2 separate regions of the Homo sapiens genome follow, and region 1 is linked to region 2. The links are contacts of gene promoters, found by promoter capture Hi-C in blood cells and fetal thymus (Javierre and others, 2016). All regions are on one chromosome and are shown on one strand. The core of a region is centred on a gene start or on the middle of the fragment in contact, and the rest is flanking DNA. Distances in the headings are between cores, read along the strand shown. Region 1 has its middle 12 kb from the start of KCNK18. Region 2 holds the start of SPMIP5 (sperm microtubule inner protein 5).

The links. Contacts are between HindIII fragments. The CHiCAGO score rates a contact against its expected background, and 5 or more counts as called.
Region 1: a contact is called between a fragment that was not itself captured here and the fragment with the promoter of SPMIP5 in region 2, in 5 of 17 cell types (naive CD4 T cells, naive CD8 T cells, M0 macrophages and 2 more). The highest score is 7.4, in naive CD4 T cells.

The regions. Positions count from the first base shown.
Region 1 is chr10:117,183,306-117,187,065 of GRCh38, forward strand. No RefSeq gene overlaps it. Among named protein-coding and RNA genes, the nearest start is that of KCNK18, 12 kb to the right of the region's middle. The HindIII fragment of the contact is 946 bases long and covers 1,741-2,686 here.
Region 2 is chr10:116,668,079-116,671,759 of GRCh38, forward strand. It overlaps SPMIP5 (sperm microtubule inner protein 5), which reads right to left and starts at 1,888. Exons shown (of 6, transcript NM_001350931.2): 1 at 1,849-1,888; 2 at 180-245. The coding sequence starts at 234. HSPA12A (heat shock protein family A (Hsp70) member 12A) reads right to left here. Exons shown (of 12, transcript NM_025015.3): 12 at 3,114-3,681. It overlaps HSPA12A-AS1 (HSPA12A antisense RNA 1), which reads left to right and starts at 1,977. Exons shown (of 3, transcript NR_187551.1): 1 at 1,977-2,200; 2 at 2,316-2,407. The HindIII fragment of the contact is 1,303 bases long and covers 1,397-2,699 here.

The DNA of each region.
Region 1 (3,760 bases), core at 964-3,463, 520 kb after region 2:
ATCTGTATGGTAAGACTGGAATCTCAGGCACACCTCTGTTCTAGCTCAAGGAAAAGGGAAAGAGAGGAAGTCCAGGTCAATCAATTTTCTTTTAAGCCAGTGAGGTGTAAAGGCAAACACCACTTCTGTTACATCCAGTTGATGACCACTTTGTCATAGCCACACCCAGCCACAAAGTCAGCTGCCAGCTGTAGCCTCTAGCAGATGTCCGTTGCACAGGAAGAAGGGAAGAACTGATCTTGAGGGCACAACTGACCATAATCCCACCAAAGGAAACAGGACATCCTAAGATGGCCGCTGAAATCACTACCCTTGCTGATGGAAACTCACATCTCTGAGCCTTTGGCAAGGGCTTTAATAAATTCTCCTTCTAGAAATGACTTCCTGCAGCCTGCTGTTAATTATCCTGGTTGGAGGAGGACAGAGTGAGGAGAACTTAAAGATAAAATACATGTAAAATGCCTTAGGAACTTTAAAGCACTGTCTAAGTCCAAAGGGTACGACACTTCTTGTTCTGGCGGTGGTGGCTATTTTTATTCTAGAATTTTGAGGTTTGAAAGTCCCATCCCTTCCCTCCTACAGGTTCCACACCAATTGGGAAATAGACACACATGTTGAAGAGGGGCCCTACATCAGCTTTATTGCTGATAAAGTTGGATCTGAGGAAGTGATTTGAACTTGAGGTCAAAATTGATTGTTCAGTGACTTCCCCCAGCCATTGAATGGATTTGCTCATTCACTCAGGGCAAAGATGACCTGTCCTAGTCTCAGAGTCCATTTCCTCCTCTCTAAAATGGGAATAACAATGGCATCTATGGCACTACTGACTTACTCAAGATGCATACCATTCTTTCCAGTAGAGGCTGGAAATTTAAGTACTGTATTTCCCAGTCTCCTTAGCTGTTAGGATTCTGGATGCAAATTAGATTAGATTCTAGACAACAAATGCAATTAGGTTTTGGATTCAAAGTAGATGTCTTTCTGCAAGATTTGGAAAGCAGAAGTGCAGTAAAGATGTTTTTCCCATCCCTTTGGGACATTTCTCTGCTGGCAAGCGGGGTCACAGAGGTAAGGTGCTTCTTCAGGACTGTGCTTCAAGACACAAGACATGTTCTCCAGCCTCCTGACTGCGCTGCCGCTGCCGCTGCCGCTACCGCTGCGTGTCCTCGTAAACTCAGTGGTTCCAGCGCCAGCCTCTGAGGTAGCAGCTCTCCTGGAGAACCAGGTCTGCACTGTTCTGGGTGTCGAGCCTGCAGGACCAGCTGAGAACCTGCTCCTTTGGGCTTTGCAGTGTTTGAAAGCACATAGTATCCCATTTTAAATCCCTTCCTGCTGAAACACCCAGAGTAGATTATTTCCTCTACTGAGGTCTGATGCATTCAATTCTTCATTTACTGTGAAGATTAAATGAGATAATGCATGTGGAGCACTAGCATATCTCCTGGCACCCAGTATGTGTTCAATAAGTGGTAGCTGTGGCTTGTGCTTGTCATGGTAATAAATTGTTTACTTGTGACCTAAGTTATTAAGATCATGTCAGGGTTTTCAGGCAAGCCGCAAACGTCTTTGATCCATATTATGACAAAACCATACCTATTCAGTTTTTTCTTAGGATACTTTTGAAACACAACCAACAAACACATAATGAGTGCAGGCCACCATGCTGGCAAAAGTAATGAATGAGCAATCATGTATTTGGACTTCGGATATGCTAGTCCTTGTGCTAAGCAAGTTAAGACAAGCTTTTGAGATGGGTGTCATCATAGCTATTTTACAGAAAGAGATACAAGCTCAGAGAGGCTAAGCAATTTGCCCAAGGCTGCACAGCTAGGTAGTGGCAGAGCCTGGTCTTGGAGGCCAGGTCTTCTTTCTTCTCATTCCACCACAACAGCCTTTTGGAGTTTTTGCATGGGTTGTTCGTTCTGGTTTTTGGTTTGGTTTTTGGATAAAAATCAAGTGTCATTTTTCAGGGCCTATGTGGCAGGCATCCCAGATTTCCATCTTATGAATGGCCCTGAGGAGCCTGTACATTGCAGCCTCATCTTCCTCTCAGATGGTGGAGACAGAAAGCCTTGAGCAGCACTGTGCTCAATCTGGTGACAGATGGTGGTCAAGGCTAGACGTTCTCCTCTGGGAAGTCTGAGGGACTGGTGAGCCCTTGGAGCAGGCCCAATGCTGGCCTTGGGCCTGGCCTGAGGGGAACCACCGCCATAGAGGAGGCACAGTTCCACGGCTTACATAGGATCAAAAAAACTTTTTATTCTTATTTTCTCGAGATGGAGTCTCACTCCGTCACTCAGGCTAGAGTGCAGTGGCGCGATCTCGGCTGACTGCAAGCTCCGCCTCCCGGGTTCACACCATTCTCCTGCCTCAGCCTCCTGAGTAGCTGGGACTACAGGCACCCGCCACCACGCCCGGCTAATTTTTGTATTTTTAGTAGAGACGGGGTTTCACTGTGTTAGCCAGGATGGTCTCGATCTCCTGATATCATGATCTGCCCACCTCAGCCTCCCAAAGTGCTGGGATTACATACGTGAACCACCACGCCTGGCCAGATCAAAGAACTTTCTAACTTCTCCCTAATAAACACAGGCAGGGTTCTGGAGCAGGGGTCCCCAACCCCCAGGCAATGGACTGGTACTGTTAGGAACAGGGCGCAGGGGGTGAGCAGCGGGTGAGCAAGCAAAGCTTTGTCTCCATCTACAGCCACTCCCCATTGCTCACATTACTGCCTGAGCTCTGCCTCCTGTCAGGTCAGAGGTGGCATTACATTCTCATAGGAGCACAAACCCTATTGTGAACTGTGCATGCAAGGGATCTAGGTTGCCTGCTCCTTATGAGAATCTAATGCCTGGTGATCTGTCACTATCTCCCATCACCCCCAGATGGGACTGTCTAGTTGCAGGAAAACAAGCTCAGGGCTCCCACTGATTCTACATTATAAGTTGTATAACTATTTCATCATATATTACAATGTAATATTAATAGAAATAAAGGGCACAATGAATGTAACATGCTTGAATCATCCCAAAACCATCCCCTCTGTGGCCCATGGGAAAATTTTCTTCCACGAAACTGGTCCCTGGTGCCAAAAACGTTGGGAGCCACTGTTTGGGAGGATAAGTCAGAGCCTGGGTCTAGGAAAGGAAACAATTGATCAACTGATTTGGTTTGGGGCCTTTCTGTTGCTTTCACTGAGGGGTATTAGAAGACTAGGGGTTTCCTGGAAAACCTTTGTTTGGGACCAACCAACTTCTTGGTACAAAATGATCTTTCAAGCTAAGTCAGATCAAGGAGGAGCTGTACAGCCATGAGTAAGTAGGATGTTGGAAGGACAGAAAGGAACAGAGTTTCTGGGTAATCTCCCCAGCGTACGCTTCTGCTGTTTACTGGCCATGTGACCTTGGGCAAGTTACTTAACCTCTCTGAGCCTCAATCTCTTCATCAGTAAAATGGAAATAATAACCTCCTTAGCAAGGTAGAAAATTACATCATACATGTAAAGTGTTTAGCTTAGAACACTCTCAAAATGTGCTAGCAATAAAATTGATGGGTTATGGTTTCAGCCAAGGACCCCACTGGACCAGTGGTTCTCATCCTTGACTGCTCATCAAGGCTACCTTAGGAAGCTTCAAAGGCTACCACAGCCAGGTGCCCACATGGACCAAATTAAATCAGTGACTGCAACGTTAGTCACTGCTGATGACTTAATGAGGCAATCATCCATCTGGATTGAGAAAGAAAGGGTGGCTTTGAAGTC
Region 2 (3,681 bases), core at 638-3,137:
CAGAACCCGGCCATCAGCCATCTTCAGCGATGGAATGCTCTCAATGCATGTCTGAGAAGCTAGAGCGCCTAGACTGGTCCAGTTGGCTGCACAGACACAGACAGTGGGTCAAGGCAGGGACAGTGACCAGGACCCGGGTTCCCCTGCCAGGCACAGCTGCAGGGTACGTCCACACTTACCGCTATAGCCTGGTGTGATTGGCAGGTTTCTCATGAAGGTCTTGGAAGGCTCCATGATTTCGCTCTCTGTTAGTGGAGGGAAGAGGGAATGAAACGGTCTCATCAAAAGTCACTGCCTTAAGGAATTACTATTGAGTGTGCACAAGCTCTTGGGAGTGGAAGAATGACTGCCAGGAGTTGGGGCTGAGAGGCAGCACTACCACCTTACCCAAAGCCAGAGACACAGCTGGCTTCAGTCACAAACCAATGACCTATTACCAAGGGCCCATCACCTTTTATGTTAACTTGGATAACAGTGTGTAGATCACACCTACCAGGGTCTCCTCTCCCCTCCATCCGACCTCCAGCCATCCAACAATTGTGAACTGTACTCATACTATGGCTGTGAAACATGATAGAGGCTGGGAATGCAAAGCTTCTGAGCAAGCCCAGAAGCCCCTGTGTTAGGTTCATGAGCCTCAGGTGAGGAGAGAGATGAGGCCCGCACACCCCCAGACCTCCTTCTTGATCCAGGTGAAATCAGGTTGCAGTGGTGATTTTTGCCAGCCCCCACCATTACCCCTGGAACATCTGGCAATGTCCAGAGGCATATTTGGCTGTCAGAAGTGGGGGATGGGATGCTACTGAACATCCTGCAATGCTCAGAAGCCTCCCCCCACCCGCCGGCACACACATGCACACACACACACACACACACACACACACACACACACAAACAAGGGAGAAGAAATTCTGGCTTGAAGGAATCAGGAAGTCCCAAAAGGCAGACATGGAGTCCAAGGAGGGTAAGCAGAGGCCACCCTCTGCTTCAGGGGGCTCCACTGAAACATCAGTTTATGTGGATGCTGTTTCTGCAATAAGACACCTTCCCTCTTTGGGTATCGCTGGTCATTCCCCCCAAGTGGGCTGAGGCCTTGCCAAGTCCTGCCCTGCTGAGCCAGTTCATCTCTTTAAAGAAATGCCTTTGAGGCTGGAAGAAGAGGATTCAGGGTGGAGGAGAGGGCCACAGTCATGGCTTAGTCAGCAATGATGGGGATTGTTAAGACAGTTCAGCCCCCGCCAGGCTGACAGCAGTGAGGACTGTGCCGCGTCTAGGCCACTCTAACCCCTGGCATCACGTACCTGACTCCTGGGAGGAAGCACTGGGCCTGGAGTCAGACAGACCTGGCTGTGAGACCATGTCCCACCCATACTGACCACCTGCTTACTTTTCTGAAAGCTTTCCACGCTTGTTTAATCCTCTCAACAGCCCCATGATATAAATGCTATATTATACCCATTCCCCAATTTAAAAAGGCAACAGACAGGGAACACTGGCTATCCCCATGTGGTTGCAGCAGAACCGCATTCTCCTTTAATCCCCACAGCTTCCCTAAGAATGAGTTCCTGTTGGAACCCCCATTTTATAAATGTGAAAAATAAGGCACAGAGAGGTTAGGTAACTGGTTTCAGGGTTCCAGAGTGAAAGGGGGTGCGAACAGATGACCTCTAAACTCTCAGGGACAGGATATGTTGCCCAAAAGCATCAGCTGGGGTATAAGCCTGCCTGGAGGAGGTGGGCAGGGAGGAGGGTGGGAAGAAAGGCGGTGTCCTGAGAAAGGGGGCTAGGAGTGGGTAGAAAGTAGGGCCCCTCCTAGCCACCCTCTTCCAATCCCACCTCAGCGCTCACCTGGGCGGGGCTGGCGCTATCCGGTGCCCACTTGGCCTCTGCCCGGCCGCCCAGGATCCCTGCCTTCCACCAGGCCTTTGTGCGCTCACCCGGTGGAGCACAAAGGCCCCACCACCGCCAGCCTGCCCCTCCCCCACCCTTCCCGCGGTCCCACCTGGAAGGTGGGCGCTTCCCCCAGCGCCCGGCACAGCCCGGACCCCGGTGTAAAGTCGGGCATCTGCGCAGTAAACATCTGGCCTCGGAGCTGTCCTCCGCGCCTTGGCTGCCCCAGCCAGGGGAAGGATATGCGGAGGGCTCTAAGTCAAAGCGGGCGTTTTTGCGGGTGTAGACACTGCGGCGCCTGGGTCTGCAGGTCTGGCCGGGGAAGCGGGTGGGCGGGAACAGGGGGCGGGGCCGGCAGTGGGCGGGAGGAGGCGAGGCCTGGGGGCCCTGGCGCCTCCAATACAGGAGCTTCCTGGGCCTGGCAGCCCCTCCCTCCCTGTCTCCTGTTAGGAGGGGCAGATTTTCAGGTGGCCGGGACAGGTGAAGGCAGAGAGGAGTGGCTGTCCACCTGGGGAAGGTGAGTCATCCTTCTTTCTAATCACTCTTGGAGGGACACCCAGACTTCCTCTCATTGAATTGAAACCCACCAAGATGTCCGCCCTATGAACCAGCATGTGCTGGCTGCTCCCTTTACAGAAAATGACGCTGAAGCTGCGCTACTTCCAGGACACGCTTGTTTGCTGCACCTCCCGGCCTTCCCTACCTCTACTTTTCTGAAAATTGAACTGCAAATGAAGGCTGGTGGAGCCGACCACCATTTATACCTCTCTTTTATCACCCCATTTAGAACATACCTCGGGCCATCAGGAAGCTTTCAGAGCCAACTGTGGAGGGCGACTCAGGTGTAGGCTCTGGACACAGCCAGTTTCACGTGACGGCTGGGATGCCCAGGGGCAAGAGCCCAGCCAGGCCTTCTGCATGTTTTAATGACTTACACTGGGGTGCAGTGGCATTGGCAGTGGTCACTCTGCTTACCTGCCCTCCCTCTGGCTAGACCACTTTCTTCCAGAGAAAAGGGGCTCTGTGCCCATCGATGGGGCCTTGGTTCCCAGCAAACAAAGGGCCTAGTCTTGTTAGAATAACTTAAGAAAACTTACAGCACCTGGAAAAAACTGAAACTCTCTCTCCACCACCTGAGATGGGGTAGAGAGGGAGATCAGTACTGACGTGTCCATCATGCAGTTTGCAAACCCAGGATGGGGGGAAAAAAAATCTGGGCCACATGAGATTCAGAGTTTTGCTTTATTAGGCGTCTGTGAAGACAAGAGAGTTTGCAGACACAGTCCCGTCTGGTGGTGAACTGCTGCAAAGTTCTGTGAAGTTTGAATTTATCTTGTAGTGAATGAGACCCCAGTAGCTGATATTTTAGAATACTGGTCCATATTTCAAGCAGATGAGAGGTGTGGCATTATGGCCAACAACTTTTATATTAGCCATCCACTCAAGCCGTTTCCCAGCATACATATGCAGCTTAATCACAGCTATACATCTCTACAATGTGAAATTCGATCTTTGACTAATAATGCATTCTGACTCCTGTTTACATTGGTGCATGCGATTCTTTGCTACCCTGGCAATTAACCAGACCTGGACTCTAAAAGCTAAACTTGGTCTAAATAACATTCTAAGGGTAAGGCAACCTCTATAATCTGGACTCAGCCATCATTTTGCAAAAACAGTTGTATGGTTCCTCCTCTTTCCCCTCCTGTCTGTAACTTGTCTGTTACTCAGCATTTATTCATGCCTGCTGTGTACGGAAAGGGCAGTTACAAAGGAAAGCCTTGATGATTC